Regions from separate parts of the Homo sapiens genome. Here regions 2 and 3 are each linked to region 1. The links are contacts of gene promoters, found by promoter capture Hi-C in human tissues and cell types (Jung and others, 2019). All regions are on one chromosome and are shown on one strand. The core of a region is centred on a gene start or on the middle of the fragment in contact, and the rest is flanking DNA. Distances in the headings are between cores, read along the strand shown.

Region 1 (4,174 bases), core at 728-3,227:
GCGGGCAGATCACTTGAGGTCAGGAGTTCGAGACCAGCCTGGGCAACATGGTGAAACCCCATCTCTACTAAAAATACAAACATTAGCCGGGCACGGTAGCAAGTGCCTGTAATCCCAGCTACTTGGGAGGCTGAGGCAGGAGGACTGCTTGAGCTCGAAGGTTCCAGTGAGCCAAGATTGCGCCACTGGACTCCAGTTTGGGTGAGGAGCGAGACCCTATTTCAAGAAAAAAGTTTTTTAAAAAGAAGAGCCAATGGGAAAGTGAGGTGCAGGCAGCACCCTAGCTTGTATCCCTAAACCAGAGACAGTTCCCTGGCATCGGTGCTAGGCCTGTGTCCTCAGTCCCCTGGAAACTGTGGGAGAGTGTGTGTGGGCATCGTCTCTGGGAAGGGGGTGAAACCCCAGACTGCGTCTCCCCAGGATGGTGCCTGGCACGTGACCTGGTTTCGCACACAGTTGGTGCCTCATAAATGCGTGTGAATCATAGAGGCGGATGAGGCCAGCACACAGGGAGAGGCGAGAGCAGGCCCTGGCGTCGTGGCGTACGCTGTGCCCTGGGGGGTATTTGCATGTGGGAGTCTCTCTGCCCCCACCCTGGCCCCTGAGCGTGGGGACAGTGGGGACAGGTCTCCTCTTTTTCCTCCCCTGTGTCTGCAGGTGCCTGGCACGGTTGCTGTCCAGGGCTTAGAGGACAGAGGAAGAGCCCCTGAGTCTGTGCACACTCTGCCACCATGGCCCTGCCCACCTCTGGAGCCCACAGGTGCCCAGCCCAGGCCCCTTGCTTTTGGCTAGACTCCTGCCCTACGGGGACCCCCATGATGGCCACTCAGGAGATGGGCCCAGGAGGACAGGGGAGTGACTCCAGGCCATGACCGGAAGGGGCCTGTGGCCCCTGTTCCCAGTCCCCAGGGAGACGGGAGGGTCACACGCTGTTATGAGGAAGAGGACACCGGGCTGGCCCTGGCCCAGGGTGGCCAGCTCTGGTTTCACTACTTGGCCCCAAGCCCCTGAGGCAGGTGCAGGAGCCAGGCACGGTGAGCAGGGCCCAGTGCCCCTCAGGCTCTGGGGAAGGGGTACAGCCAGGTGGCCCAGAGCAAGGAGGTGCTGTAGACAGGTGTGACCACTTCCAGTCTCTCCCGGCCTGCTGGCCTTCATCCTCTCCCAGATTCCAAGGGCCACCGCTGGGAGCATGGGGTGGACATCGTCCCACCAGCCTCCTGGATCCACATCCGTAAAGACTCCAAAGTGAAGTGAGGCTGGCTTCACTCCAGCTCACAGCAGAGGAGGGGGCAGCCTCAGGGCCCAGCAACTTGCTCAGAGCGCACAGGAGTGCGCTGGGGCCGGGCCAGCCTGGCCCAGGGCCTCTGACTCTGCCCCCTGCCTGCAGGGCTGCACGGCCACTGTGTTCCACCCTCCAGCGTGGGTGGCAGTCCAGTGCGTCATTCTGGGGCCTGAGCAGTGTGGCCAGAGGCCGGTCTGGGGTGGAGGCGACCTGGGCTGCAGGTTGTGGCTGGGGTCCTTGCTATGCTTCTGGCAGCAGGAATCAGAGAAGCAGTAACTGGATCCAGCTGAGGGCCTGGCGGCCACCGAGGGTACGGGCGGCGATCAGGTTGCGGCCGAGCCGTGAGCGTTCCACTGGACGGCTTCTACATCCGGAAGGGCTGGGCCGGGCCGGGCCGGGAGCCCACACGGGGTTGGAGGAGGGGGGCAGGAACGAGAGAGGCCAAAAGGTGCAGGGCCGTGAAGAGGGGCGCTGGGCCCACGCTATGAGGAAAAGGGGATCAACCCTGCCCTCCAGCCCCGTAGGCCCTCAGGCCCTCGGGCTCTGGGCTCTGTGCAATCCGGGAGTGGCTGAAATCCAAGCTGAGGGTAATGAAAGGTGCTGCTCCTAAGCCGCACGTCTCTGATCCGCCCTCCCCGCCCGCCCTCTGCTGCCCGCGGGCCCTCTAAGAGCTGCCCAGGCTGCTGCCGCGGGTCAGAGGCGGGTCAGAGCAGGCAGGGGGTTCGTGACGCCGGCTGGGTCTGGGGGCTGTGGGCCAGCCGAGCCGACCCGGGCTTCTGGGGGACCGCGGGGGCCGTGAGCACTCAGAGGGCGCATCCCAGGCCCCTCCGGGGACCCGGCCAGCCTGAAGATGCCGACGAACGGCCTGCACCAGGTGCTGAAGATCCAGTTTGGCCTCGTCAACGACACTGACCGCTACCTGACAGCTGAGAGCTTCGGCTTCAAGGTCAATGCCTCGGCACCCAGCCTCAAGAGGAAGCAGACCTGGGTGCTGGAACCCGACCCAGGACAAGGCACGGCTGTGCTGCTCCGCAGCAGCCACCTGGGCCGCTACCTGTCGGCAGAAGAGGACGGGCGCGTGGCCTGTGAGGCAGAGCAGCCGGGCCGTGACTGCCGCTTCCTGGTCCTGCCGCAGCCAGATGGGCGCTGGGTGCTGCGGTCCGAGCCGCACGGCCGCTTCTTCGGAGGCACCGAGGACCAGCTGTCCTGCTTCGCCACAGCCGTTTCCCCGGCCGAGCTGTGGACCGTGCACCTGGCCATCCACCCGCAGGCCCACCTGCTGAGCGTGAGCCGGCGGCGCTACGTGCACCTGTGCCCGCGGGAGGACGAGATGGCCGCAGACGGAGACAAGCCCTGGGGCGTGGACGCCCTCCTCACCCTCATCTTCCGGAGCCGACGGTACTGCCTCAAGTCCTGTGACAGCCGCTACCTGCGCAGCGACGGCCGTCTGGTCTGGGAGCCTGAGCCCCGTGCCTGCTACACGCTGGAGTTCAAGGCGGGCAAGCTGGCCTTCAAGGACTGCGACGGCCACTACCTGGCACCCGTGGGGCCCGCAGGCACCCTCAAGGCCGGCCGAAACACGCGACCTGGCAAGGATGAGCTCTTTGATCTGGAGGAGAGTCACCCACAGGTGGTGCTGGTGGCTGCCAACCACCGCTACGTCTCTGTGCGGCAAGGTAGGGAGGGCACAGGTGGCGACCTCCTGAGGGGTGCTGGGACCCCCCTGCTTCAGGGAGGAGGCCGTGGGGGTCTCACGGGGAGTGGTATCGTGTCTGTGCGTTCACATGTCTGTTCTGGGCTGGGGGTCCATGTGGGACATGTGTGGCCACTCAGGGTGTAGGTGGGTGGGCCTCGGGCCATGCCCAGGCGACCCCCACTGAGGGGTGGTGGCTTCAGGGTCAGAGGCAAGGGTTCCTGGCCTTTCTCAGCATAGCTGGAGAATGTCTCAGCCAAGCCCTGGGCAGCTGCGGAGTCTGAGACTGGAGAGGTGTGGGCCAGGCGATGGGCAGTGCCCAGCAGGGGCAGGAGGCCCACAGCCTGGCCTGGTGCCATGAGGGGCATGTGGGCAGGAGGCTGTGGGGGGTCCATATCTCCCCTTCTTTTTCTCCACCCCATTTTCTGGACTTCATTTATTTATTTATTTTTTGAGACAGAGTCTCGCTCTGTCACCCAGGCTGGAGCGCAGTGGCGTGATCTCGGCTCACTGCAAGCGCCGCCTCACGGGTTCACGCCATTCTCCTGCCTCAGCCTCCCGAGTAGCTGGGACTACAGGCGCCCGCCACCACGCCCGGCTAATTTTTTGTATTTTTTAGAAGAGACGGGGTTTCACTGTGTTAGCCAGGATGGTCTTGATCTCCTGACCTTGTGATCTGTCCACCTCGGCCTCCCAAAGTGCTGGGATTACAGGCGTGAGCCACCGTGCCCGGCTGCATTTTCTGGACTTTAAAGGAAATTGGGGAGGAGCCCAGGGTAGGGCAGGGAGCTGGGGATCGGGCGGGGATAGCACCACCACGTGCCTGACCAGTGGAGCCTCGTGTCCTCAGGAGTGGGGGGGCTTAAGGTCAGCTCCAGTGATGGAGGACACGGTGGGCAGGCAGCTTTACCCGGGGCCTGGGCTCCTGGTGGGGAGGCACCTCCCTGCCCCAGTGGGGCGTGGCCTGGCTCTCCCCAGTTCCCAGGTCACCAGTTGCCTGTCTGTGTGACTCCCTCCACCGCCTATGGGGTGAACCCCAGCAGTTCCTCCTTCCCCACAAGCTGAGCTCTGAGGGAAAAGCCCTGGCCCGGGCAGTCACTACCCACCTGGGCTCCTGGCTCCATGCACCCCAGAGTGGCTCGGAGGTGGTCTGAAAAGGCGAGGTGGGGAGAGCCGGGTGCATGGAGCTCCTCCTCCCA
Region 2 (4,166 bases), core at 756-3,255, 160 kb after region 1:
CCTGGGCATCTGCAGGTCATGGAATCTGTGGTAAAGAACTGTGGCCAGACAGTTCATGATGAGGTGGCCAACAAGCAGACCATGGAGGAGCTGAAGGACCTGCTGAAGGTGGGTGAGACGGGGGCATGCGGGTGGCCACCCAGGCTGGCACCTTTGCTTCTCCGGGTGTTTACTGGGCACTGATGACAGAACAGCACCAGGTGTGGCGGAAAATGTGCAGGTGCAGATCGGTGGTCCCTGCACTGCGCAAGCTCGCACTCATGAGTCGGAGAGACAGGGCCGTGAGCCCCAATCCAGGGAGGTCAGGGTTTAGCAGGAGCCGGCCTGGGGTGCTGTGTCTGGAGGACCAAGGTGACAGCGACCCTGGGGCCTGGGGGAAGCTTCCGGGAGGCAGGGCTTGGGCACCTGCTGTCTTAGGGAAGGTGAGTAGATGCCACTGGGTGGGCAGGGCAGGTGGTGGCTATCGTGTGTGAGAGTGGCTGTGGTCCGGAGGGCAGGCTGGCCACATCCCACAGGCAGGGGCCTGGGAGGGCTCTGAGCGGGGGCTTGTAAGATCGGATGTGTCTGGCGGGGATAAGAGCTGTTTTGGAGAGCGAGGGCTTCATGCTTTCCTGGGCAGAGGAGGAAAAGCCCTCCAGATCCCCAGGAGATTGTGCCGGGGACATCTGCAGGGATTGTGCTGGGGACACCTGCAGGGACTGTGATGTGGACTGTGATGCAGTGGGGATGCTGTTGCAGGTGTCAAGGAGAAAGAGTGTCCCATGTAGTCAGGCTGCTCCCCTTCTGTCCCAACCTGTGGGCCAGACCTGGGTCTCATAGGAGACTCCCTGGACTCACACAGCTGAGAACCTGCCCGGGGATCCCGGTGGACAGCCAGGCCTCTCAAAGGCCCTCACTGGCCACTTTGGCTGGCTTCCTGTCCCGTCCTGTCCTGGCTGAGAGGCGGAAGGTGCCGGAGTCTGGCCCTGCCCGACCCTGGTGCTCCTGAGCTCCTTCAGTCAGGCTGCAGATCCTGAGCCGGTTCGCTCCTCTGGGGTGAGGCAGGGCTGTGAAGGGAAGGCGCCGCTGAGGATGCAGAGGGGTTCTGGAAAGGAGCTTAGGCTGAGGTGCAAGTGCCCCGGAGCCTGCTTGCAGCAGCCTCTGATCGCACGCCGTCCTGCACGTCACACCGGGACGGCGTCCCCGAGAGGGCCGTAGACGCGAGGCCAGGCTGCGCTCTAACCGGGGGAGAGGATGGCTGCAGGGGGTCTGGAGCCCGCTCTGAATTTGGAGGCATTTCTGGAGCGGCTGCCCCCCGCGTCTCCCCGGCTGTGACTGGAAGGAGGGGCGTGGCCAGAGCCCCGCAGTACCCCTGTGTTCTCAGCCCCAACACCACGCTGCCACCGTCAGGCCTGCCGGGTCCTGCCTGTTGGAGGCTGACGGGAACCGGGGATCCTGGGGTGGGCAGGTCCCGTGGGGAAAGGGAGAGACAGATGGTCAGGGGCACAGAGACGCGGCGTTGTTTGGCTCCAGCAAGTAGAGGCAGGCGTGAGGTTTGAACTCAGGGTCTGGGAACAGGTTGGTGCATGGCCCCCACGCCCCACTCGGGGGGCCCTCCCTGGCCTCTGTGTCAGCCCCATCTGCTCAGAGGCTGAGGTCTGCCAGCTGCTTCCTCACACCGAGGCCTCTGGCGCCTGGAGTGTCCTGCGACCCTCACCCCCTTCTCCCTGCCTGCAGAGACAAGTGGAGGTAAACGTCCGTAACAAGATCCTGTACCTGATCCAGGCCTGGGCGCATGCCTTCCGGAACGAGCCCAAGTACAAGGTGGTCCAGGACACCTACCAGATCATGAAGGTGGAGGGTGAGTCAGGACTGAGGTTGGGACCAGGTTGAGGCTTGGAACTGCTGGGCAGTCAGGCTCAACGGGCACAGTGGCGAGGGGCCTGGGAAGATGGGTTGTTCCCTGTGTTGGGAGGGAGGAGGGCGGTGGCCTGGAGCCAGGGAAGACCGTGCATGTGAGGGCGGGTTCAGACCGGCTCCTGCCTTTCTGGACCCACGGCCCACGGGCAGGGGCAGGCAGTGATGGCAGACAACACACAGGTGAAAAGGCAGCAGACAGCCTGTTTCAGAGTGGCAGGACTCCTGGGGGCCGGGTTGGGCTGTGCAGTCAGGGAAGGCCTCTGAAGGAGCTGTCCCAAGTGTCGAGACTGGAACAGAAGCCAGAGCCGGCGTGAGCAGGCAGGCAGCACCCGTGGGCAGACACTCAGGGTTGAGGCCCCAGGGCAGAAAGGTGGCCAGCGTGCCAGAGGAGAGTGCAGCCGGGCCTGTGCGCCGAGGGCCTCCAGGCTGTTGGGCTGGAGTTCAGGGTTGCTGTCAGCGCAGCAGGAGGCCTCTGGTGGGTTTTCGTCTAGGTCGTGGCTGCCAAGGTGTGTTTCTTAAGGGTCCCTCTCGGCCATTGTGGCCGTGGAGAACTAGGGGATTGTGTAGAGAGAGGTGGGGGCTTCAGGATGCATTTGGGAGTCTTGGCTGGTGCTCAGGGCCCACTCAGTGAGAGAGAGGTGGGCATGGCTGCTCACATCTGTGCGGGTTCTCTGTGGCCCTGAGTCTGCTGAAGACGAGGCTGAGAGCGTGGGGAATGGGGCAGGCTCCAGGGGTGGTGCGTCCCCGCTGCAGGAGTTGGACGCTTGCCCTGTGGCTGCAGGGTGGGCAGGACCAGTGTGGAGAACACGGGAAGAACGCAGGGGGCGCTGCACGAGCTGCCTTGGACCCTCAACTTTGGGGTGGTGGATGCTGGTGGTCTGTGCTCCTGTCTCCTTCCTGGGGTGGGAGCTCTCCTGGATTTTTTCTGGGGTCGTGTGTCAAGAATAGCTCAAGGTCTTGTCCTCAGGATCAGTGGGAGCCCTGGCCAGAGAGCAGAGGGTGAGGGAGCCACTCAGCAGGCGGGGCCACGCAGGGGCCTCATGCCCTGATGGAGTGGGAGCAGTGTCTCAGGAAGAGGGCAGCAGGGCCTGGCTCTTGTCTCCCGCCACAGTGAGGACAGAGGCCCCATGGGGACACCCAATCTTGGGGGCAGGAGGCTGTCTCGGTGCCCCCAGACACCTTCACTTGGGTGCACGGTCACTGCTGCGTTGCAGCTGCCGAGAGTGAGGAAGGGGCTCCCGGAAGTCTTGCAGGCCAGGTGGGAGCAGGCAGTGACTATGGCTTCATCTCTCCAGGGCACGTCTTTCCAGAATTCAAAGAGAGCGATGCCATGTTTGCTGCCGAGAGAGTGAGTGTGGGCGGCCGCCAGGGGTTCTGGAGTCGGGCTGCTCAGGAAGCGTGAAGGGGAGTGCTGGGAGCCCGGCTTGTTTGAGGGTTGGTGGCTGAGCTCTCGTCTGTCTGGGACCTGAGGATGCCTGTGTGTCCTGGGCGGAGGCGTAGCAGCTGTCTCTGCAGGGCGAGGTGGAGACGTGGCTTGAGGGCCTTTAGAGTGGCTAGGGGGCTCGGGAAAGGAAAACAAGCACCTTTGATGAGGAAGGAAGTCCCTTCCTCAGGCCTCGGCAGCTTCACCCCAGGCCACGCCGCTGGGAAGGGCCGCCCGGGGCATTGCTCTCGCTCGTGCTGGGGTCCTCTCTGGGTCCGTTGCCTTCTGTGGGGCAGGGGAGGCTCTGTGCCTCTGGGGCTGGTGGGGCGGGAAGCGTGTGGTCCTGACTGCTGCCCCTCCTCAGGCCCCAGACTGGGTGGACGCTGAGGAATGCCACCGCTGCAGGGTGCAGTTCGGGGTGATGACCCGTAAGGTGAGTTCCCACCTGGGGGGCTCTACAGCCCCGGCCAGACACCAGGTCCCCTGCCGTGCACAAGGCCACCGTCCCTGCTGGGCCTTTCCTTCCTGGTGGGTGGTTCAGGAGGTGAGTGCAGCTCGCAGCGGGTGGCAGTGTGGCGTCAGGAGGGGGACAGTGAGGGCCCACGTAAGGGCCTGATGCCACTGCCTGGGCCGGGCCCAGCCTCACTCTGGAATTATAATGTTTTAAACCTAGGGCTACAGGCCTTGCCACAGTCACTCTGCTGCTTGCCAGGGCCGTGGGGCCCCCTTCTCTTTGTGGCTTAGCCCATCTGGATTCTTACCCTCGAGGCATCTTCACATCAAAACCCCCTCCAGGCTGGCAACCGGCAGTGCTTGGGGTTTGGGGTGTCAGCAGCTTCCAGCA
Region 3 (4,291 bases), core at 968-3,467, 180 kb before region 1:
GTGAGCGTGAGACTCGGCCACCAAGCTTTAAGGTCGTCGTTATGCAGCACTGTTGTGGCAAAAGCCGACTGATACACCTGCCCTGGCACTTGGGGATACAGGGAAACGGATGTGGTGAATTGAAGATGATGCCACACGTCCCCTGGTGTGCCGAGGTAAAGGCTTGGGAACGCTGGGAAGAGGGAGGAAAGAGCCAGAAGGTTAGCGCGAGGCACTCATTCCCTGTAGCTTGACTACTGTTTCCAGAAATTGAGGGCCGGTTTGCAATTAGAGTTACCCCAGAAAGTTGGGACTCCCAGGTTGAAAAAGCCACTGTTTATGCCTCAAACAGTAGGAGAAAAGATGGTGGCTGTTCAAGGCCTGTCACTCAGGCAGCTCAGTCCAACAAAAGTGTGCAGGCCTACGGCAAAGATCAGATGAAGGCTCAGGTTGCGGGGGGAGGGGAGCAGATGGCTTAATGAATCATCTGTCAGTTGGACCCGGAAGACAGTCATCGGGACCCACGGAAAGGCTCTGCCCATCCTAGAGAGGCAGGCTTTGGGCTGGGTCTTCTCCCTGGAGATGATGGTGACTTTTTCTAACACGATGTGTGGAGGAAGGGTGGGTCTCACAGATGTCTGGAGGCCAAGGGCTGGCTGGCTGCCGTCCGGCTGTCCAACAGAAGCCGTTACCCCTTCTCATGGGGCCCCTGGCTGGTCTGCATTCCCAGGCTCCCTCGCAGTAGGTGTGGCTGGGTAACCGTGGTGTCCAACAGAATCTGGCAGAAGCAGTGTGCACCAGTTTCAGGAGCAGGTCACCCTTCCAGGAGGCTTTTAGGGTTCCCCCTTCTGATGGCTGAAATGGGCACATCAGAGAGACTGTGGAAGACAAATGTGCAAGATGACAGGGCAGCCTTCAGCCTGGGGCCCAACCAGGCCCCACCCCGCAGGAGCACTTGCTTGGGCAGGTCAGGGATAAATAAGCCGCGGGCTGGCATGGGCAGCTACGTTTGGGGTCTATTTGCTACAGTTGTGTAACTTGCACTGAGCAAGAGTTTCAGAACACACAGTGTTCAAAAACACCAGTAATAGCTTCAGAGAGAAAAGAGATTTTGTTCTTTAAAAAAAGAATCTGGGGAAGTGAACTCAGATTTTTGCTTCCTTCCTCATAATTTTAGGTAGTATTCAAAAATTTACAAGAAGATTCAGAAATAATAACCAAGAAAACTGCATTCATGTGAACAAATAAAAATAAGCTTTGGGGCTGGGCACAGTGGCTCGCGCCTGTAATCCCAGCATTTTGGGAGGCCAAGGCGGGTGGATTGCTTGAGGTCAGGCATTTGAGACCAGCTTGACCAACATGGTGAAACCCTGTCCCTACTAAAAATACAAAAATGAGCTGGGCGTGGTGGCGGGTGCCTGTAATCCCAGCTACTCAGGAGGCTGAGGCAGGAGAATCACTTGAATCCGGGAGGCAGAAGTTGCAGTGAGCCAGGACTGCGTCATTGCACTCCAACCTGGACAACAAAGTAAGACTCTGTCTCAAAAATTATAAAAAATAAATAGAGGCCGGGCACGGTGGCTCACACTTGTAATCCTGTATCTGGAATTGGTGGGTTCTTGGTCTCACTGACTTCAAGAATGAAGCCGTGGACCGTCACGGTGAGTGTTACAGTTCTTAAAGGCGGCGTGTCTGGAGTTTGTTCCTTCTGATATTCAGATGCGTTCGGAGTTTCTTCCTTCTGGTGGGTTCGTGGTCTCGCTGGCTCAGGAGTGAAGCTGCGGACCTTCGCGGTGAGTGTTACGGCTCTTAAGGCAGCGCGTCTGGAGTTGTCCTTCCTCCCGGTGGGCTCGTGGTCTCGCTGGCTTCAAGAGTGAAGCTGCAGACCTTCGGGGTGAGTGTTACAGCTCATAAAGGCAGTGTGGACCCAAAGCGTGAGCAGTAGCAAGATTTATTGCAAAAAGCGAAAGAACAAAGCTTCCACAGCGTGTAAGCAGACCAGAACAGGTTGGCACTGCTGGCTCGGGCAGCCTGCTTTTATTCTCTTATCTGGCCCCACCCACATCCTGCTGATTGGTAGAGCCCAGTGGTCTGTTTTGACAGGGCACTGATTGGTGTGTTTACAATCCCTGAGCTAGACACAAAGGTTCTCCACGTCCCCACCCGATTAGCTAGATACAGAGTGTCTACACAAAGGTTCTCCAAGGCCCCACCAGAGTAGCTAGATACAGAGTGTCGATTGGTGCATTCACAAACCCTGAGCTAGACACAGGGTGCTGATTGGTGTGTTTACAAAACTTGGACTAGATACAGAGTGCCGATTGGTGTATTTACAATCCCTTAGCTAGACATAAAGTTCTTCAAGTTCCCACTAGACTCAGGAGCCTAGCTGGCTTCACCCAGTGGATCTCGCACTGGGGCTGCAGGTGGAGCTGCCTGCCAATCCCGCGCCGTGCGCCCACGCTCCTCAGCCCCTGGGTGGTCGATGGGACTGGGCGCCGTGGAGCAGGGGGTGGCGCTCGTCGGGGAGGCTCGGGCTGCACAGGAGCCCACGGGTGGGGGGCGCGGGGCGGGGACGGGAGGCTCAGGCATGGCAGGCTGTAGGTCCCAGCTCTGCCCCACGGGAAGGCAGCTAAGGCCTGGCGAGAAATCCAGCGCAGCGCCGGTGCGCCGGCACTGTTGGGGGACCCAGCACACCCTCCGCAGCCGCTGGCCCGGGTGCTAAGCCCCTCATTGCCCGGGGCTGGCAGGGCCGGCCGGCTGCTCCGAGTGCGGAGCCCGCCAAGCCCACGCGGAACTCCAGCTGGCCCGCAAGCGACGCACGCAGCCCCAGTTCCCTCTCGCGCCTCTCCCTCCACACCTCCCCGCAAGCTGAGGGAGCCGGCTCCGGCCTTGGCCAGCCCAGAAAGGGGCTCCCACAGTGCAGCGGCGGGCTGAAGGGCTCCTCAAGTGCCGCCAGTGGGAGCCCAGGCAGAGGAGGCGCCGACAGCGAGCGAGGGCTGTGAGGACTGCCACACGCTGTCACCTCTCAATCGCAGCACTTTGGGAGGCCGAGGCGGGTGGATCACGAGGTCAGGAGATCGAGGCCATCCTGGCTAACACGGTAAAACCCTATCTCTACTAAAAATACAAAAAATTAGCCGGGCGTGGTGGCGGGCGCCTGTAGTCCCAGCTACTTGGGAGGCCGAGGCAGGAGAATGGCGTGAACCCAGGAGGCGGAGCTTGCAGTGAGCCGAGATCGCGTCACTGTACTCCAGCCTGGGTGACAGAGCAAGACTCCGTCTCAAAAATAAATAAATAAATAAATAAAAAATTGGGCTCGTTTGGTTTTGTGGAGTGTTTTGAGACAGGGAGTACAGCAGCAGGGTCACTGTAGTACAGCACAGGAGTCACTGCAGCCTCCACCTCCCAGGGTCACGCAATCCTCCCACCTCAGCCTCCCAAGTAGCTGGGACCAGAGGGTTTGAGCCACTACACCCAGCTAATTTTTCATGTTTGCTTTGTAGAGATGAGGTCTTGCTATGTTTTCCAGGCTGGTCTGAAACTCCTGGCCTCAAGTGATCCTCCCTCCTTGACCTCCCAAAGTGCTGGGATTACAGACATGAGCCACCTCACCCCGCCCCACTTTCTTTTTTTTTCTAATCAGCCCCAACTCATTATTTATTTTCACTGGTCTCTAACCAAAATTTGACATTTCCTTCAGTGATGAATGTATGACATAACTAAAATAACTAAAATGACTCAAATCATGCTGCGATTGTTGCAGATATCTTTTTTTGGAAACGGAGTCTTGCCCTGTCGCCTAGGCTGGAGTGCAGTGGCGCCATCTCGGCTCACTGCAACCTCTGCCTCCCGGGTTTAAGCGATTCTCCTGTCTCAGCCTCCCAAGGAGCTGGGACTATAGGCGCACGCCACCACGTCTGGCTTATTTTTGTATTTTTAGTAGAGACGGGATTTCACCATGTTGGCCAGGATGGTCTTGATCTCCTGACCTCATGGTCGGCCCACCTCGGCCTCCCAGAGTGCTGGGGTTACAGACGTGAGCCACCACGCCCAGCCAGCCAGGCTGGTCTTAAACTCCTGATCTCAAGTAATCCACCTGCCTCGGCCTCCAAAGTGCTGGAATTATAGGCGTCAGCCACTGCAGCTGGCCACAGATATCTCAAAATACTGTTTCTGTTCATCACAAACACATGTATTGCATGTACCAGAACTTTTGTGATGCATTAATATGTATAATTAATATGCATTAATGTGTACAAGTATAAAAAATATATGCAGGGGCAGGGTGTGGTAGCTCATGCTGTAATCC

Evidence for each region. The method cuts DNA at HindIII sites, captures the fragments that hold promoters and counts their contacts. A contact is called where the count stands out against the background at its distance.
Region 2: a fragment that was not itself captured here is called in contact with the fragment with the promoter of FSCN2 in region 1 in 1 of the 25 tissues and cell types used here (lymphoblastoid cells).
Region 3: a contact is called between a fragment that was not itself captured here and the fragment with the promoter of FSCN2 in region 1, in 4 of the 25 tissues and cell types used here (dorsolateral prefrontal cortex, lymphoblastoid cells, mesenchymal stem cells and 1 more).

Annotation. Positions count from the first base shown.
Region 1 is chr17:81,526,400-81,530,573 of GRCh38, forward strand. FSCN2 (fascin actin-bundling protein 2, retinal) reads left to right here and starts at 1,978. Exons shown (of 5, transcript NM_012418.4): 1 at 1,978-2,958. The coding sequence starts at 2,133. RefSeq lists enhancers at 1,900-2,426, 2,427-2,952. The HindIII fragment of the contact is 15,570 bases long and covers 1-4,174 here.
Region 2 is chr17:81,686,988-81,691,153 of GRCh38, forward strand. It overlaps HGS (hepatocyte growth factor-regulated tyrosine kinase substrate), which reads left to right. Exons shown (of 22, transcript NM_004712.5): 4 at 16-108; 5 at 1,717-1,840; 6 at 3,195-3,247; 7 at 3,687-3,755. Among named protein-coding and RNA genes, the nearest start is that of MIR6786, 4.7 kb to the right of the region's middle. The HindIII fragment of the contact is 5,827 bases long and covers 1-4,166 here.
Region 3 is chr17:81,349,594-81,353,884 of GRCh38, forward strand. No RefSeq gene overlaps it. Among named protein-coding and RNA genes, the nearest start is that of RENO1, 5.7 kb to the left of the region's middle. The HindIII fragment of the contact is 3,176 bases long and covers 630-3,805 here.